7 separate regions of the Homo sapiens genome follow, and regions 2, 3, 4, 5, 6 and 7 are each linked to region 1. Evidence: promoter capture Hi-C in 16 types of primary human blood cells and fetal thymus (Javierre and others, 2016). All regions are on one chromosome and are shown on one strand. The core of a region is centred on a gene start or on the middle of the fragment in contact, and the rest is flanking DNA. Distances in the headings are between cores, read along the strand shown.

Region 1 (2,684 bases), core at 99-2,598:
AGAACTTCCAAAAATACTGAACACGTTAACACATGCATGGCTTCCCTCGAGCTGCCATTTAAGATTAATATTCCACTTAAATAAAAGTCTGCTTCTGTTCAAAAAATTAAATCGGTTGCAAAGAGGAAGTTACCGAGAAACCACCCTCACAACGTGGCCTTTACACTGTCAGAAAATAACGTGACTCTGTGCCACCCAAAACTTACCAGGAAGCTGGCAATAACTTTGCCAATTCTACACTCCTGAACCCAACTTCAAAGAGCCTCCACCAAATACCTCCTTAAGACGATAAAAAGCACTAAGTTACAAATAAACACGTCCCGGAGCAAGGCCCGGCTGCCGCGCGCCCCTCCCCCGGCCGGCGCCCCCGCCCCGGACGCGCGGCCCCAACAGCCGCCCGCAGCCCCCAGCACGCCGGCCGGGGTCGCCGCGCCCGGGCCGGGGACGCGCCCGGGGAGGGGAGATTTCCATTGCCGCCCGAGGTTTCACAAAATAGCATGCACCGAAAAGCTCCTTCTCCTCTGCTAAAAATAGGCTATAAAGGAGTCGGCCTCATGATGGCTCCTTGATTCAATTTGCTGCAAATCCTTTCCTGAAAGCCTCCCCCCCCAAACACACACGCACAAAAAGGGGGTGTAAATGCACGAAGGGAGGAAGAGGGGGAGAAGGCCGAGGTGCACATTTTCGGGGACAACATAATTAGGGTGAGGATCCCCCGAGACCGGGAAAGGGTAGGGGGGTGGGCAGGCACGTGAGCATTTCAAAGAAACCTGAGAGAGGAAAACGGGGGGATGGGGGCGCCCCAAGTGCCCTCCCTGCCTTCCCTTCCCCCACGCAAGCCCAGTTCCCCCAAGGGCCAAGTTGAAAAATGCATGTTCCACTCGCGCCCATCCCCCCGCGGCCCAGCGCCCCCGGCCGCCTCTGGCCCGCGCCCCCCGCCCAGGCCCCCGGCCGCCCCCACTCCAGGGTCCGGCCCCCAGCGCTTACCTGGAAACGGTGGCCTCCAACGCCGCTCCCCCCTCCCGGGAATGGAGGCACAAGGAAATTCCCCTCCTCGCCGCCGCCGCCACCGCCTCCAACCACCCCCAAAATAACCCCTCCGGGGGGTGAGAGGCAATTATAACCCCAGCGAGCGGAGGGCGCGGGGGATGGGCGCCGGGCGGGCGGGGGCGGGGAGCGCGGCGCGGGTCCCCAGGTGGCGAGCGGAGGTGCTCCCGCCGCGGGGGGAGGGGCGGGGGCGCACGCGGCCGGCGGCGGGGGGAGGCGGCGCGCGGGGGAAGGGCGCGAGCGGGGAGAGGAATTGAGGCAGAAGGTAAAAGCTGTTACTAAGGGAAAGAGCCAAACGGTTCGGAGCAGCCAACGGCTCAGACACTCAACACTGGGGAGAGAGGAATGGGGACCAGCCAGGCACAAATGAGCTCGCGAGGCCCGCGGCGGCGGCGGCGGCGGCGGCCGCGCAGCAAAACAAACCCGAGCGGCCTGCGCCGGGCGGGCGGGCGAGCGGGCGGGCGGGCGCGCGGGGGAGGGGCCGGCGGGGGAGGGGCGCCGCGGACGCCGGGAGGCGGCGGCGGCGCGGCGGGGGGGCTCCAGCGGCCGCGCTCCTCTCCTTCCCGGCCCGCTCTGGCGGCACTGGGGGCTGGGCTGTGCGGCGCATTCTTTTAAAAATCAGGCGAGCCCCGCGGGCACTCGAAGGCGCCTCGGGGCCCCGGGCCGCCCGCCCCGCCCCCACCGCCGCGGGCCGGCCTGGGTGTGCTCGGGTGTGGGCCGCTGGGCCCGAGACGGGTGGGGGCGGGGAGGCCCGCGCGGTGGCCGGGGTGGAGCCGCCGGCGAAGTTTCCCCAAGGACGCCGCGGGCTCCCGCGTGTCCGGGGGGCGGCCCGGCGGCGTTGGGGGCTGGGCGCACACGCGGCGGGCATGTGGGGGAGTGCGGCGCGGCATCATATGGACATTTGTTTGTGAAAATCTCTGTGAACACCTTTGTGTGCGTAAATACATATGGTTCTCCGAAGCGTACCTGGAAAGGTGCTTTATCTGTAATAAGCGACTTTCAAAATGTGATCCAGAGCACGGGATCTGGAGAGAAAACACGCACACAAGAAAAGGTTTTTGATACTAAACACAAAGCTGTAATTGAAGTATTTATGCCCAAATGTACTGTGAATCAAGCATATGGTGGTATTTATCATCTGGTGGGTCTGTTTGAAAGGTTTGCTCGATCAGTTCTTATTTCACAAAAATAAAATAATGTAACTAAATGTTTACTAAATATATACCTGCACAGTGGCATCCACAGTAGAAGTTTATCCACTTTGTGTACTTTTTGCATGTGTGAAGCACAGCAAGGCGGTTTATAAAGTATAACTTAGATGAGTGATAATGTGGCAGTATGGTTGAGGGAGGGTTGTTTTTAAAGAAGGGAGGCACCTCACAGGTTTTAAAGCAAATGGGGTGGTAATCTTTCTAAGACTTTCAGAAAGATGGGGTAGGGTGCTTTTTAGAGCTTTGTATAAGCTCAGGACTGGAGAAGCAGCCACCCTTTTACATTAAGATACGACTTGAAACCTTTTTGTTATTTCGCTTATTACTGCCTTCAAAGCAAAATAATGTTTGCAGCTTTCTTAAAGGTGAAGGGTTCTGTTTTCCTACTTTCATCAGAATATTTGAAAATAGATGTAGTGATCACTT
Region 2 (2,684 bases), core at 47-2,546, 2.0 Mb after region 1:
GTCAAGTGAAACTACGACCACAAAGAGGAACAGATCCATCTCATTTACCATTGGGGTATGGACGGACGTGCGGTGTTCGAGAAGACTGTTATTGGTCAGAGTTTTGCTCTAGAGGACAAGTAGGACTGTAACATCTCTAGGATGGGTCACTTCCCAAGCCCTCTATTACTTAAAAATTCAAGGAGGAACCGATGCTGGAGTACTTGTATCTCAGACTTCTAATCACTGCTCCTACGCTTTTCCAATATTACAACAAAAGACCAGTAGGGGGAGAAAAACGCACAGTACCGAACCCTTATCAGTAGTAATCTCAAAAGTCAACAGATTGATTTACTCTCAAGCAAACAGACTTCTAAGGTACGCAGCACCAAGACACTACCTTGAATCAAATCTATAGCCTATATGACATTTCTGAAGTCTCTGTTGGCATTACGCGAAAAATCCCCCACGTCTTCTGAATAGTTAGAATTGAATCCTACAAGCTGCTTCGAATCAGAATTCGATTTAAAAAAAAAAATGAGGGCATAGCAAAAGGTCTCCACGAAGTGAGTCAAAGGACTGCAGAGGGCTGTGACAGTGCATTCCGCCTTCGGGATGGTATACAACTTAAACCATGTCGGCAGAAGAACGCACAGCAACGCTTTGTAAAAAGCATTCTTTCTATTATAGAATCCATAACCACGCTGGTTAGCCACTGACAGCGGCGGTTAGCCACCGCACCTCCTCTCACCCCCGAACTAATCTCGTTTCCTCTATGGGTGTAAAAGTGAAATAACCCACTTGCTCCCAATATTCCTTTCTATATCTCTACCCCAGCTCGCCTGCTGCTCGTAGAAACAAATATACTACACGTACGCTGTCCTAGGATGACACAACACCCTCACTACTGCAGAAGACGGATCATTAAACAAACGTCAGAAGAGCAGCCCCAACTGTACATAAACTTCGGGCGGAAAAGCAAGACGCAGGCGCAGTAGCACATATTGTTACCCTATTTGCCCACTCCCTGCTCCTCCTCGCCTCAATTTCGCTTCCGCTTCTTTGCGCATCTGCTTCCGGGGGATTGTAGGCTCTGCCCCTCCTCAGCTCTTACCCTCTTCTGCCGGAGGAGGGGGGGGGCCGAGGGGGTGGGGAAGAGTTCGTTGTTTGTTTACACGATGTGAGCGGAAAAAGAGACCAATAAAGTTTATTCTGGAAACAAAAGGAAAAAAAAACAGGGGCGACGGAGAAAGGAGTCGGGGGCGGGGGCGTGTGGCGGGGGCTAGCGAGGAGAGGGAGCGAGAAGTAGAAAGCGGCAGTTCCGGTGCCGCCGCTGCGGCCGCTGAGGTGTCGGGCTGCTGCTGCCGCGGCCGCTGGGACTGGGGCTGGGGCCGCCGGCGAGGCAGGGCTCGGGCCCGGCCGGGCAGCTCCGGAGCGGCGGGGGAGAGGGGCCGGGAGGCGGGGGCCGTGCCGCCCGCTCTCCTCTCCCTCGGCGCCGCCGCCGCCGCCCGCGGGGCTGGGACCCGATGCGGTTAGAGCCGCGGAGCCTGGAAGAGCCCCGAGCGTGAGTAGAGCGCGGACTGGCCGGTAGCGGGTGCGGTGGGAATGGGGACCGGGTGGGTGCCGGAGACTCCCGGGCGCGCCCGCCGTGTTGGGCGGAGGCTACGGGCTGGTCGTCTCCCAGCGTCGGCCCGCGGCGGAGTTCGCCTGCGATCGCCGCACCCTCTCCCTCGCCTGCCTCTGGCCTCTCCTAGCTGCAGAGGCGAGGGCTCGCCGCTCCCTCTCCTTTCTCTCTGGCTGCCGCCTCGCTCTTCCTTTGCTTCTACTCCCAGTTTTGGGGACGGGGCGGCTGGAGGTTGAGGAAGTGCGCCCAGGGCCGCCGCCCCGGCCGCGGTGGCTCTGTCTCCCGCGCCCTGCACGCCCACCCAGCCCGCGGGTGGAGGGGCTGCCGCGAGGACTGCGGCTCAAGGGACGCGGGCGCGAAACCGCGAGCTTTTCTTGAGGGGCTGTCACGCCCGAGGACTCCGGCCCCGCCAGCCTGGCGGCCCTGCGTTTGCCTCTTACTGGGTTTAAATCGCCCGGCAGGGGTATGGAAGGAACACCGCTCCCCTCACCCCCGCCAGCTCCCCTCCCACCCTTCCTTTCGAGGTTGTTTTTTCCTTTTAGCTGAGACAAACGCTTAGATCTTTCATTCATAGACCTGAGACACTGACTCATGTGACTTGTCTCTTTACTAAGTGTATTATGTGATGCCTGTTCCATGGCTCTTAAGTGGCTCGGAAAGGTAGGGTAGGGCCCGGGATTGGGCTATGTAAACACCAGACGTTCAGCCGGCGTGTTTTTGACCTCGGCTCGAGGGGTTTATTTTAGGATGCTAAAGGAATAGTGATGGTGGCCAACCGTGTTACCAGACTTGGGAATCGAAAGCTATTTTTTTATGTCAATAATTGAGACTGTTTACATGGTTAAATAAAGGGTAGGGTAAAGGGAGCGCAACAAGAGGGTCTTTCTAGAAAACAGTCTGCATATTCTTTAATGAATTAGAGTTGTGATTTCATCTTGGTGAAGCTTCCTCATTCCAGCACTGCGCCTTTGTGCACATGCAGGACCTGGGTTTTCGGAACGATGTTTTGAATCATAGTTTGTGTGGCCGGGGAGAACCCCTTAGAATACTTGGGTAGGTAAATTCCAGGTTATCTCAGGGG
Region 3 (2,684 bases), core at 130-2,629, 1.9 Mb after region 1:
CAAATTTATTTCTTGTTATATTTAACAATCAACACAATGTCGACTCCTCAAAAAAATCTATGTATGACAATTGCATCAAATATTAGTACATTTGCAAACAAAAATTAGTATAAAATATAAATCTTAAAATGAATAAAACCAAGTCTTCAGTGAATGCATGAATGATGGAATACAGAGACCCAAAACATGCAACTCAGATCTGTTCAACTGTTGCATTGGTTTAAAAGGGACTAATTTGAAGACTGGCATAAATATTCTTCAAATCTTAAAAACCAGTCACTTTGATGCTTGCGATGGCATAAATGAAGGATTTATGCTGGTTAATGTCCTGGTTTGGAAAGGAGCTAAGACGACATTAAAGAAAATCAAAGCTTCACAAGGTACCCTGTTTAAAGAAAATTAATTGTCATAGCATACTTAGTTTTAATGATTGGACTGGGGCCTACTCTTCACATACTGTGTTAAAGACAATCTCTTGTCTCATTTGGAGAAATCTACAGAGGAAAGAGAATAGAATAAAGGAACAGGTTAGGAGCACCTCAGCAAACTAGGTAAGTCTGTAATTGGGAATTCTGGAAATGAGGGAAAGGCAGCGAGCATTACTCAGAGGTCATCAGAACGCAGCAAGAAGGAATGAGAGGGAGAAAAGTTAAAAAAAATAATAATAATAATCACTTGAGGCAAGGTGTATCCTATAAAGAAGGCTCAAAAGAACGCAGAAAACTGGGGAAGAGGCCTTGGTGAATTGGCGAATGTTTTTCAGTCTCCGCTGTGACGGTTCCTAATCCTAGAGAACTGTTTACAGATTTGAATCAAAGCTACAGACAGTTCAGCGTCGCCCACATCCACCTTACATTCCTAAGATGTGCATGCATACACACGAACCCACACACGCACCTCAACCCGGTATGGATGCCATCACGAAGGATGGAATCCCCCGACTCCCACGGGGCGGGGGCAACTGAGAGGGCCAAGGCAGCTGCACGCACAGATGATCCACCTGGTCCACGTGAAATGCCTGAAACAAGCAAACTGATAAATAGAAGCAGCGCAAGCCCTGTCACGTGGAGGGCAGATGGAAAGAGCATCGGAAAGGAACCGCTAGTCCCCGGCGCTCCAGGGGCTCGTCCTGAAAGCTCCGCGGCTCCCAATCGCCCGCACTTACCGGAACCCCCGGGACGCGCCGGCAGTCTCCGCGCCGCGTCCGCCCGGGACGCCCGCGACGCCCGCCCTGCGCGCCCGGCTCGGCCCAGCTCGACCCAGCCTCTTCTCGGAGCAACTTTCTCCGCCGGCCGCCGCCGAGCCCCCTCCGCAGCCGAAGGCTGACTGTCAAAAGTCAGTCCAACCCGACCCACAGGGAAACAGCTGCAGGAAGTGACTGCGGAACCGGGAGGCGGTGGAGGAGGAGACTGAGGGCGCCGGCTCGGCGTCGCCACTGCGCATGTGCTTGGCGGAGCAGGCCCGGCAGCGGTGGCAGCGGTAGCAGTGGCGGCTCCCGCATCCCCGGCGGGCGGCGCGTGGGTCAGGTGCCCTGGCCGCGAGCGCAGGGGCGCGGGGTTAGGCCGGCGTGGGGAACAAAGGCACGAGTGAGAGGCGGGAGGGTCCCGCCGCCAATCTCAGCAGACAGCCCCGAAGAGCAGTTCAGCAGATGCCCTGGAAAGTTAATCCTTGGTAGAAGCCTGGGCAGAGCTTTTGCAACTTTCATCTCCAGTCATTGGGATCCAAACATTGTTCATTCTGTTCCTCCCTTAGCCTGCTGGTTGGCGGTTAAGGCGGCTGAGTGGATCCTTTAAACTGCTGCAACAGAACCTTTAAACTGCTGCTCTCCCCACTTCCGCCCCAGGATGGAGGAAGAAGAGCGTGGCTGCCTGCCCAGTATCGGCCTCCCTCACACAAAACGCCCCCACCCACCCACACACACACCTTCCCTCCCCTACACGAAAGTGAGCAGGAGATAGAGGAGACTTTCTCCTGACCCCCAGAGGCTCACCTGCAAGACAGGAAGGACCAGGAAAAGAGTGGCCAACGCTAGGATGTCACATCCTTCATAACCAACCTGGACATCTTCAATGTTAACACTGAGTGATGAGCTGAGGAAATTCCGGCTCTAAACTTATAGCGTAAATTAACTCGTATGAAGATCTGCTGGGGTATTATTTTTGTGTGTGGCAAACGATAACAAATATACTACTTTAAGAGTACAGGCCGGGCGCGGTGGCTCACGCCTGTAATCCCAACACTTTGGGAGGCCGAGGCGGGTGGATCACGGGGTCAGGAGATCGAGACCATCCTGGCTAACACGGTGAAACCCAATCTCTACTAAAAATACAAAAATATTAGCCAGGCGTGGTGGTGGGCGCCTGTAGTCCCAGCTACTCGGGAGGCTGAGGCAGGAGAATGGCGTGAACCCGGGAGGCGGAGCTTGCAGTGAGCCGAGATCGCGCCGCTGCACTCCAGCCTGGGTGACAGAGCGAGACTCCGTCTCAAAAAAAAAAAAAAAAAAAGTACAGTTCAGTGGCATTAAGTACATTTGCATTATTGTGTGGTTATTTTTTAAAACACGAATTAAAATGCCAAGGAGATCTAAGTATAGTAAGATGTGCCCTATTAGTAGGGAAACAACTGCAGGAAATCAAGGCTGTTTCTTTGGCTGAAAAATGCACCAATCCAATACCAACAACAAC
Region 4 (2,684 bases), core at 62-2,561, 1.2 Mb after region 1:
AGCAGCTGGAACTCTTATATATTGCTGGTGGGAGTATAAATTGAAGAAATGCTTGGCAGTATCTACTAAAGCTAAGCTGTGCATATCTTTGACCCAGCTATTCTACTTTTAGATACAAACTTAACAAAATGCATAAGCATATTCCCCAAAAGACATGTCCAAGAATTTTCATAGCAGCACTATTTATAATATCCCCATATAGGAAGCTACTCAAATATCTAACAACAGTAGACTGAATAAATAAATAGTGGCATATTTAGACAATAAGTACTATTTAGCAGTGAGAATGAACTGTAACTATACACAAAAATACAGATATAAGTCACAAATATACAGCAAAAGAAGCCAGGCTCAAAAGATTGCAAAATTAATCTATGGTGTCACAATTCAAGATAGTGGTTACTCTTAGAAAGTTACCAAATGTAAGGAGACAGAAGAGACCTTCTGGGATCCAGGTGATGTTCTGTTTTTAATCCTGGTGCTGATCACATAAGTTTGTTCACTTTGTAAAAGTTTATTCTGCCATACACTATTGATCTCTGTGCTTTTTGTAGATATATTTCAATTAAAAGTTTACATCAAAACGTGTATGTGTTTATAAAGCAGAGTTGCCATTAGCTAGCCCAAGATAACAACTCCCATAGATTAAGAGCTGTAACAAAATCTCAGGGAGCATTCAATTCATCGGTTTGACATACACAACGAATACATTTTTGCCTATCAAATTACTAAACAAATATTAATTAAACACCTAATGCTATGCTAGTGGTAAAAACTTAAGGATAAGATATATTCCTAATTTCATGGTATTTACAAAATATTTACAATCCATTTTTGGGAGACAAGATTAGAGATAAAATAATAGCAGAGTCTGAAACTAAAAGCTAATCTGTATATGTCTTTTCTCCCTCACTGTGTGTGTCTTTTCTCCCTCACTTCCCCTCTTGAAATACACATTCTTTTAAGAGTGGGTTAATATTAATTTTGTGCAATCTTGAATCTTGGAAATTTTCAGCTGATTCCATTTGGGATGTTGCTCCAGCCACCAAGATATCTTTTGAGGATCATATCTCTTGCTCACAAAATATAATTACATTACTTGGAAATGGCAAGACTGGGTCCTGAAAATCTATCAACTCAGAGCAGTGAGGAGCAGAAATTATCTTATAATAGGATCCTATGATCTTATTACAGGTTCTCTGAAATAATCACCTTCTTAACCACCAATCAGATCAATGTTTTGCTGTCTCCTTGCCAAGTCTCACAAAAGACCGCCCTTATGTAAATTCCCGTAGCTTTGGCTTTCTCCTTCATGTCACAGGTTCTGCTCCTTCCAAAAACCCACTATGTCAGATTCCACTTCCATTTTGGTCAATAACATATATCCTGGTTTGGAAAGCCACTTTCACCAGGCTAGGCCATTGATTTATCCTGTTCTCAGCACGCATATACCATTCCTGTCCAACTCTTGATCTCCAGATGCCACCCACAGGTATTCTGATTCAATTATTCTAGAGCATGGACTGGGCTATCAGTATTTTTACACTATTTTTTCTCTCTTCTGTTTTGGGAACTCCAATTAGATGGATATTTGGCCAATTAAAGTTGTCCCCTATCTCACTAATGTAATACTCATATTTTTTCAATCTTTTAATACTGTTTATTATAGTTTCTATTTACACATGAATCATTAATCTTTCTTCTGCATTGTCTAATATGCTATTAATCTCATCCAATGTATTTTTTATATTAAACATTGTAATTTTTATCTTTGGACATTTATTTTGGATATTCTTTATATACTTTATATCGTGGTTTCTGAGGACACCCAACTCTGTCTCCTCAACTCAGGGACTTCCAGGCTTTGCCTGGTATCTTCTCTTCATGCTGCAGCATGGAAACTCTCTAGACAGTTACCTGGTGCAATCATAATGTTCACTTTATTTGCTTTTCCTCTCCCAGGTATAACTGTCCCATGCGGCCTAAGGTCCAATGTCTAAAAAATTTCTGTTTCAGAGATTTTTTCTGGGATTTTAGCTGTTTTAGGCAGAAGGGTAAATCCAGTCACAGTTTCCTCATCTTGGCTGATGGCAGAATATTTTTTTCACCTTGTTTGAGAAGTTTTACTATTATCTGCCCACATAGAGATGTGTTTCTTTTTAATCTCATTTTTCATGAATATTGTCTGTGGTCTCCAAATTTAATAGCGCATATTGTATGTAAATTTTTAAAATATTGGAATAAAACATAAATATAGTAAGTACAAAAATTCCAGGTATACAGCTTAATGTGTTGTCATGAAGTAAACATACGCATTTGACCAGCTTCCAGATCAAGAAATTTAAAAATCACCAACACTCCAGAAGCTCATCTGTGACCACCTCCTACCATCTGCCCTCAAAAGCAGTGACCATCTAGAATCTTAGTGTTGCAAAACATATTTTATCCCATTTTAAAATTTATATAAATGGAATCATAAACTATGTATTCTTCTATCTCTGCTTTTTTGGTTCAGCATTATATTTTAAGAACCATCGATGTAATTGCATATAGTTAGAGTTTTTAAAATTCTCACTGCTCTATTGTATTGCTACATACCAATATTTAATTATCCTTCTATTATGGTTGGATATTTGGGTACTTTTCACTATTATGAATAAGACTTCTACAAAGCTTATTTTGTA
Region 5 (2,684 bases), core at 117-2,616, 1.2 Mb after region 1:
GTGATTTATCAGGGCATACAGCACATTAATAGTGGAGCTAGGTCTCAAAATTAGATATTCAGATGTAAGGAAAGGTCATGTTGCTAATGTTCTGCACTTTTTTAAGAGTATTTGCATGCCTAAACACAGCCTTTTGCACCACTGTGTGTACTCATGTATCATTACGTGCCTGCATGCCTGTGAAGTAGTCGGTCAGAAGTCTTTCACATAGAGAAGAACAAGGAAACACACACCCTATTTTGGTAAAAAGGAAGAGATGATTGCTGCTTGAATGGGTACATGTGCTTAAATACAGACACATCACACAAAACTCTATCATATCACAGATTTACTTTCTAAAAACAGTTTTCTTACAAACTGATATTTGTATTGTTATGAAATATTTGTATTAAATTATGACCACAGTACAAGTACAGTCCTATGTACCTGTACACCAAGTTAATGCAAAAGAACTACCATCAATAATCCTAGATTTCCCTCTCCATTCACCAGGTTTCCATTAGCTATGGCAACCCAATTTAAGAACATATTGAATGGAAATGAATTAAATTCAACTAGAAAGAAGATAACGCTCTTTATATTTCTTATATTGTTACATCATTTTCATTGTTTCCTTAGGGATGGAGGATGAATAGCATTTGTTCAACATTTTCTAATACAAACATAACTTCAACATACAGTATCTGTTTCAACCCTCCCATTAACCAATTAAATTAAAAGGTAATTTTATTATTCCTGTTTCCCAGATAAAAATATCTGAGTCTCAAAGATGTTCAGTTACTTGTCTCAGACCTCATACTCCTAGATGCCATACCCAGAATCCCAACATAAGTGTCAATTCGTTTTTTTTCCTTTTTAATTTTTTTCTAATTTTTGCAGAAACATAGTAGTTGTATATATTTATGGGATACAAGAGATATTTTGATACAAGCATGCAGTGTGTAATAATCACATCAGGGTAAATAGGGTATTCATCACCTCAAGCATTTATCCTTTGTGTTACAAATGATTCAATCATACTCTTAGTTATTTCAAAATGAACACTTAAATTATTTTTGACTACAGTCCCCCTTTTGTGCTAGCAAATACTAGGTTTTATTCATTCTTTCTAATTTTTTTTATCCATTATCCGATAACTCTTAAATTAATGTGACTTCCTTTTTACCCTGCTACATGTCAGGAGTATCCCAGAAAGAAGAAGAAAGAAGGAAGCTGGACTGCAGGAATTGGGGAAGTAGGCATGACTCTTGTTCCTTGCCGAGTTCTCACTCCCACTGTTGAGCTACCTGTGTCATCCCAATCTTGTCATAAAACAAGGGAGTTTCTGCAGAACAAATCGAAATGGAAAGGAGATGCCAAGCACTCAGGAGGGATCTCTGTCAGGTCACTTAATATCCGGAACGAAAGCACAGGAGTGCCGGATCGAAGAGTTAATGAAGGTGGCTTTCATTGCCACAATAATCTTTATCACCTCCTCCCTTCAATAAAGATATATGCTTAGTAGAAAGTTTGCTTTATATACGAACAGTTTCAACACAACCCCTCATACCCACACTCTTCCTTCCATTCTTTCAACCAGATAATCACACCTACATTTTTTTGTATGGAAATTTTGAGGACACTCACTTGTTTCTGAGATGTTCCTATGTATTGAGGATAATTCTTTTTCACTTCCTAGAAAGGGCTTCCATCCCACTCAGAATAGCTCACAATATACTACTATGGTAGTGATGAGAGAGTGTAAGGTAGAGATCCAAATCTCAGAGACAGGCAAAGGAAAGTTCATATTCAACTTAGACCAAGAAGTTGAAGTGGGAGGATGGGAAGAGGGCAGAACACAATTGGAAAAGTTATGGGGTATTAATAGAAAGTGTCCCGAGTAAAACTCATGCACACATGCCCTAGGTCAAATTCCAAGAGAAAAAAAAAATACACTAGGAAAAATAAATCATTGGGAAAAAAATAGTTAAAAATGACCTCAATACGATGGCAATTTAGGGATGAAATAAAATCAAAAGTGGAAAGAGCTAGAAGGGCTTCATATACTACAAAACCTAAATTAGCTTTGTTTTGGAGAAAGTTTACTAACAGATGCCAGGTTCAACAGAAATGCCTCTGGCAATGGCAGAAACACTAACAAAAGAAATCTGCAGCTGAGAAACAAGCTGCCAGGTCATTAAACGAAGAGGCACGCGGCCGGGCGCGGTGGCTCACGCCTGTAATCCCAGCACTTTGGGAGGCCGAGATGGGCGGATCACCTGAGGTCAAGAGTTCGAGACCATCCTGGCTAACACGGTGAAACCCCGTCTCTACTAAAAATACAAAAACAAAATTAGCCGGGCGTGGTGGTGGGCGCCTGTAGTCCCAGCTACTCTGGAGGCTGAGGCAGGAGAATGGCGTGAACCCGGGAGGCGGAGCTTGCAGTGAGCCGAGATCGCGCCACTGCACTCCAGCCTGGGCAACAGAGGGAGACTGTTTCAAAAAAAAAAAAAAAAAAAAAAGGGCACACTACTTTTGAACCAGCACATTAGAAAAGACCGGTGTCTGTGCACTGGGACATTGCAGGAACTTTCCACATGAAATCTTCCTTTGTGAGATACGTAGAGCTGCCACACACCAAATTTCTGCTTTGGATCCTAGAACTGCAACAAAATAACAATAAAATACAACTGGTATAACTCTTG
Region 6 (2,684 bases), core at 118-2,617, 1.2 Mb after region 1:
GTTAATGGGCAGCTGGCCTATTATCAAGGCAAGGAAATTCTTTGGCTGTGCGTCATTAGACTTTACCCTGCTCCCTCCTTAGACCCTGTTGTTAAAAAAAAAATCACAGAAGCATGGAAGCTATGCAGCATATGCAGGGGAAATAGTTGTGATAAAGTGTTGTCTTTTAAATTCCACAGGAAAAAAGCATAAACACTATGATTACTGGCATGCAAAACACATACACATTTTTAAAAAGATTAAAAGAGAATATTTAAATATTAACAGATGGGTTGTATAAAATTTTTTCAGAATTTGCTAAATTTTTAGTTGATTATATAGTCATTAAGTTTTAAAAATCACGTGTAAACACATTTAGATCTAAGATCATTTAGACTGAAGACTACTTGGGCTTCATAAAAAAAACTGTATAACTTGAATTCTTGCCAAAGGCTTCAAATTTAAAAGAGAAAAAAAAACTAAGTACATGTTTCTAATTATCTAATGATGTAGAATACCCTTACCAAATTATCACTTTACTTGCCTTAAATTTCTACCTTCAAATTGCCTATATTAGTCTAAATTTTAATATAAAATTAGTATATAAAATGCCTCTAATAAAATTTAGTCAATAAATTATAGTTGTTTTGTTTTGGTTTTGGCTTTACTCTTTTTTTTTTTTTTGGCTTTACTCTTACAGTGAAACTAGATATGCTAGCCAAGATGACAGGCATCATAGCTTCTATTCATATGGAGGCAATTAAAAGAATACAATTTATAAAATACTAGGAAACCACATGAATGCTAAACCATACAATACCATAAGAGAATAAGACAGTATCAAAGCTTTTTTCACAAACCCTCTCCCCATAAACTTCCATAGAGAGGAACAAAGCTAAGTGCCAGGGAGATTGTGTCCATCACCAACAGACATCTATTCAGTTGTATATTAACATTTTCATCCCTCTGTTTACATAATGGCCTGCCTGCTAGCTATGTTTGTGCTTATTTTTCTGAGATGTGTAATAAACATTATTAACTTTCTTACATATAGCAAGTTTTAAAAGGCAGTAAAAATACTGTCAGTTGTAGGAGGCAGTAGAGTATGATTACTGATACTGTTATTTTGATTTAGTAAACTGATTTCTGAATAGCCTATTTATAATAGAAGGGCCCAATTGTATAATAGGGTTACTAAATGCAAGCACAGTTAGAGAAAGGTAATATTTTTTAAAAAATGAGAGAAAGGTAAGATATAGTTTTGGAAAACTGGAAGATATAAAAGAAAAAATATAGCTAGGAGGCAACTATATTCACACAAGAGTTGTGAAGTCTTCCTGTGGGAAGGAAAATTGAAGAAGGCAATAAAAACAGACAGGGAAACCTATAAGAAAATATACTGGGCTTTGTCATGAATTACAAGCATTTGAACTTTGAGGAGTACTAGTGGCCCAACTTAAAAGGAGGATGAGGACAAAAGGGACATTTTTAAGGATAAAAATGAGAAGTTTGGCTATAGTCACACTAAATTTGTACTTTTTAGGAAATTTCAAGAAAAGTTTTCTTGTAGGTAGTTTGAACTAAAAGGCTGTAGCCTGATGGAAAGATTTGGCAAAGGATTAGGATTTGGGAACAATTGATTTATAGATGAAGATTTAAGACAGAAATAGAGGATAGCAGCTTCTACAAAATAAAGTTTGAGAATAGAGGGTCAAGAAATAAAGTTTGGATATTTCTCACGGTTGAGAGACGGAAGAAGAAAGGAGACCTGGTGATGGAGGGAAGATAAACCACAAAGAGATGAACCAAAAAGAGAAATTGGAATCATCTATATCAGTGAGAGTAAGAGGAAGGAAAAGTTTGGAAAGCAGTTGAAATTGCCAACAGAATCAGAATAGCACTGAGATGTCAAAAAGTAAGAGGACTAAGGAGAAGCTTTTAAATCTGACTGTAAGAACATCATAACAACATTGTAAATACTGGGCTTAATTCAATGGTAGAGGCAGAAGCAAGAGGAATGGGTGGTCAAAATGGATTTGTGTTGCTAAAAAAGAATGATACAAAGTATATCAACGCTACAAAGTACAATAAAATCTGTGAAAAGTCTGTATTTATTTAGATGAAAAGAATTAGATTTTTAATATATAAACATTGAGAGCAAGAAAAAGCAAAATAAAAATTGGTGCTTCTAAACAGAGGAAGATAAGTATGAGCATAATGTCCTTCAGAGGGGAATATGGGATCAGTACGAAGATTATGACAAGAATGGTTAGCTTCAGAGGGAAAGGGCCATTGAGACATAAAAACAAGGACGTATAACGGGGCTTAGAAAAAGACTATGCTTTCAAAAACAAAACAAAACAAAACAAAAAGGCCAGAGAGTTGTCCAATGTCAATAACGACAAAGATAGAATTGAGGGATAAAGAAGCGTACCCACCAAAAAGAATGTAAAAAATCTGTCATGTAGCACTAATGAAATGCAAGTGCATTGACTGTTCAAGGACCAAATTCACATCTTGTTTCAGCTAGGAAAACAGGGAAAAGTATGATGGGGGATGAATATGTGCAAAGACAAAGGGAGAAGTATAACAGGGCCTGAATTCAGAGTATGATAAGAAATTCAGTGTGGTAGGAGCATAAGCGAGTGTCAGAACATGATGTATTCAGGGAAGAAACAAATGATAACTTCATTAAGAATGATTCT
Region 7 (2,684 bases), core at 71-2,570, 1.1 Mb after region 1:
GTGGTAGCTCAGATATCAGATCAATTCTTAAATTTTTAGATGTACACAATTTTCAGTTTGTGTCATAAACAACAGGTTCAAGAGTCAGCCAGTGACAGGCTGAGTTAAACCAGGAGACTTGGGGTTCACCTTCTCTGTGCCTCAGCTTTCTGAGTACCTTCCTTTATTCTCTGGTAGCCTTGGCTGTTTGATCTCCCTTGATGGCCAGAAGGACCGGGTTCTCTATCACAGATTTGCATTTGTTTTTGCTTTCAAGGCAATGCCTATGGCCACTGTCAGAGAAAAGTCACAAAATCCAGGGAACTCATTTTATGCCAGTCACTTGCTACAAGTTTCTACTCCAATCCCAAATCTACCACCACTGTTCAACCCCTAGAGTCCTCTGTTAGATTCTATTGTTGCAGATTTGTTTTTCAAATTTTATAGCTGTTATTTATAGAAGAAATTGGCCTTTTAGGCACCCACTCTTCCAAGCCAGAAGGCCAAATTCTCATTAATTTCTTTGTTTCCCTTCCTCTTGAAGGAAGGGCCTGAGAATCATTTAACTCCAGTTATCCACTTCCAAAAGCATACGCTGCTAAGTCTTACATTTTAATTATCTTGATGTTTTAAACTCCACATTACATCATTCTTATTGTGTTATGCTTTCAATATTAATTCAGCTCCACAATACATCTTTCTTATTGTTTTATACTTTCAATATTAGTTCACCTTTACTTTTCTATGTACTTTTCTTGATTCACTACACTTCTTTCTATATTTCTGAGCTCTATCTTAGCTTATTTTCTTCTGCCTGAAAAAAAATTATTAGCATTTTCTTCAGTGATGGTACACTGAAAAATTTTCTCATTTTGTTTGTCAGAAAGTGTCTTTATTTTACTCTCACTCTTCAAGAATATTTTCAATAAATTATAGTTACAGGTTTGCAATTATTTCATTTCCCCATTTTGACAATACCATTTATTTTCCTTCCTGTCTTTATTATTTCTGTTGAAAATTTGGCTTTCATTCTAATTGTTGTTCCCTGAAAATAATTTATTCATATAATCTATATTAATATTTTTTCTTCAAATTTAGCTTCAATACTGCTATGATCATAAGCCTGCATGTGACTTTCTTTTAAATGTTTCTACTTGGGATTTGTAGGATTTGTAGGCTTCTAAGCTTGATGCTTTTCCTCAATTAAAAACAAATTATTTATCATTACATTCTCTAATATCATTTCTGTCCTATCCTCTCTTCCTTTTTATTTTGGGATTAGATTATATATAAGCAGACCTATACACTGTCTCTCTTTTTTTCTCTTTATATTTTCTAGACTTATATATAATTTGTTTTGGTATTCGAAATTTATTTCTAATCTGTAATCTAGTTCACAAATTCTCTCTTGTCTGCCGTTAATTCCACTATTTGAGTTTTTCACTTTGGTGTTTAAGTTTCTCAATTACAGAATTTCAATGTGGTTCTTCCCAGTTTCAAGCTTAAATTATTTTATTCCTGCCCTTAACTTCTTAATTTAGTGAGCATACTTATTTTAAAACCTGGAATTGACAACTTCCCCCAGTGGTTCTGTTTCTGTTATTATCATTATTGATATTACTTTCCAGTCATGTTATTTTTACAACTTATATAACTAGCATTTTGATTTCATGTTTTAAATATTGTATTTTCATTTTTAAAATGTCAGCCTTAATTTTAGATACAGGGGTACATGTACATATTTGTTACATGGGAATATTGCCTGATGCTGAGATTTGGAGTATGGATCCTGTCATCCTGGTACTAAGTATAGTACTCAATGGGTATTTTTTGTAACCCAGCCCCTCTCCCTCCATCCTCTAGTAGTCTGTAATGTTTATTGTTTCCATACTTATGTCATGTGTGCTAGTATTTTCAAAACTTTGTAGATAGTTTGAGTAATAGAAACATTTTGTTTTTCCCGAAAGTATTTAAATTTTTATATTCAGAGTACCTAGCCATCTGGGATTACTCAAAGCTGAGATGCCCACAAAGCTGAACTGCAGTCCCTGCAGAAGCCATCTTCTTCTGTATCACAGTTACTCTCTAGTGAGGCTTTTTAGAGTTCCATCTCAGTGTAAGGAAGATGCATCAGGACTTTTACTGGTGTGCCTTGTACCCAGAGGTTTTTACTCTAGCCTTGAGGCTATCAAATGAGCCATCCATCCTTTTATTCTTTCAGCTCCCTCATAGATTTTTTTACTTACTCCCAGGTGAAATATAACTCAAATTCCTCTGATTTTCAACCTTTCCACACATCCCAGACTGATAATTCCTCACTATTATGCTATCTCCCTATTACTTTCAAGCAAAATTTTTTATATATCGACAAGATTTTCAATTGACTTCTAGGGGATAGTTGGACCAAGTTACCCAATCTGCCATTATAGGAAGCAGAAATGTAAAGTTAAACATTTTTTTAAAAATTTATACTATAAGAAGACAACTATTATTTAACTATAATAATATTATTTGATGGGGTAATTACAGCAAGTTAGGGAAATAATCAAATACCACCTGCGATAGTCAAAATAATCAAATCTATGCACTTTATCAAAATTTTTAAATTAGCATAATTTACTGTTTTTATAAGAAAGGATTTTTTTCAAAGCATTATTTATACACACTACAGAGTATTCTTTATTTAGACATATCATGACTTACCC

The links. Contacts are between HindIII fragments. The CHiCAGO score rates a contact against its expected background, and 5 or more counts as called.
Region 2: a contact is called between the fragment with the promoter of PIK3CA here and the fragment with the promoter of TBL1XR1 in region 1, in 7 of 17 cell types (fetal thymus, non-activated CD4 T cells, total CD4 T cells and 4 more). The highest score is 10.9, in fetal thymus.
Region 3: a contact is called between the fragment with the promoter of ZMAT3 here and the fragment with the promoter of TBL1XR1 in region 1, in 1 of 17 cell types (fetal thymus). The highest score is 6.1, in fetal thymus.
Region 4: a fragment that was not itself captured here is called in contact with the fragment with the promoter of TBL1XR1 in region 1 in 1 of 17 cell types (erythroblasts); the score reaches 5.3 in erythroblasts.
Region 5: a fragment that was not itself captured here is called in contact with the fragment with the promoter of TBL1XR1 in region 1 in 2 of 17 cell types (endothelial precursors and megakaryocytes); the score reaches 6.4 in endothelial precursors.
Region 6: a fragment that was not itself captured here is called in contact with the fragment with the promoter of TBL1XR1 in region 1 in 1 of 17 cell types (endothelial precursors); the score reaches 6.2 in endothelial precursors.
Region 7: a contact is called between a fragment that was not itself captured here and the fragment with the promoter of TBL1XR1 in region 1, in 1 of 17 cell types (endothelial precursors). The highest score is 5.3, in endothelial precursors.

What each region holds. Positions count from the first base shown.
Region 1 is chr3:177,196,134-177,198,817 of GRCh38, forward strand. TBL1XR1 (TBL1X/Y related 1) reads right to left here and starts at 1,349. Exons shown (of 16, transcript NM_024665.7): 1 at 988-1,349. RefSeq lists silencers at 391-440, 921-1,020, 1,131-1,320, 1,561-1,940 and enhancers at 926-1,435, 1,436-1,943. The HindIII fragment of the contact is 6,955 bases long and covers 1-2,684 here.
Region 2 is chr3:179,147,061-179,149,744 of GRCh38, forward strand. PIK3CA (phosphatidylinositol-4,5-bisphosphate 3-kinase catalytic subunit alpha) reads left to right here and starts at 1,297. Exons shown (of 21, transcript NM_006218.4): 1 at 1,297-1,543. It overlaps PIK3CA-DT (PIK3CA divergent transcript), which reads right to left and starts at 913. Exons shown (of 3, transcript NR_125401.1): 1 at 856-913. RefSeq lists enhancers at 12-121, 732-851, 1,661-2,160 and silencers at 1,342-1,811, 1,872-1,921. The HindIII fragment of the contact is 3,906 bases long and covers 1-2,545 here.
Region 3 is chr3:179,070,430-179,073,113 of GRCh38, forward strand. ZMAT3 (zinc finger matrin-type 3) reads right to left here and starts at 1,380. Exons shown (of 6, transcript NM_022470.4): 1 at 1,166-1,380. RefSeq lists silencers at 1,107-1,256, 1,397-1,806. The HindIII fragment of the contact is 9,531 bases long and covers 370-2,684 here.
Region 4 is chr3:178,394,537-178,397,220 of GRCh38, forward strand. No RefSeq gene overlaps it. Among named protein-coding and RNA genes, the nearest start is that of LINC01014, 23 kb to the right of the region's middle. The HindIII fragment of the contact is 2,720 bases long and covers 1-2,671 here.
Region 5 is chr3:178,376,830-178,379,513 of GRCh38, forward strand. The region is part of intron 1 of LOC105374235 (a long non-coding RNA gene); the gene reads right to left. Among named protein-coding and RNA genes, the nearest start is that of LINC01014, 41 kb to the right of the region's middle. The HindIII fragment of the contact is 3,496 bases long and covers 1-2,684 here.
Region 6 is chr3:178,352,765-178,355,448 of GRCh38, forward strand. All of the region lies in intron 2 of LOC105374235 (a long non-coding RNA gene), which reads right to left. Among named protein-coding and RNA genes, the nearest start is that of LINC01014, 65 kb to the right of the region's middle. The HindIII fragment of the contact is 1,089 bases long and covers 824-1,912 here.
Region 7 is chr3:178,336,443-178,339,126 of GRCh38, forward strand. All of the region lies in intron 2 of LOC105374235 (a long non-coding RNA gene), which reads right to left. Among named protein-coding and RNA genes, the nearest start is that of LINC01014, 81 kb to the right of the region's middle. The HindIII fragment of the contact is 316 bases long and covers 1,163-1,478 here.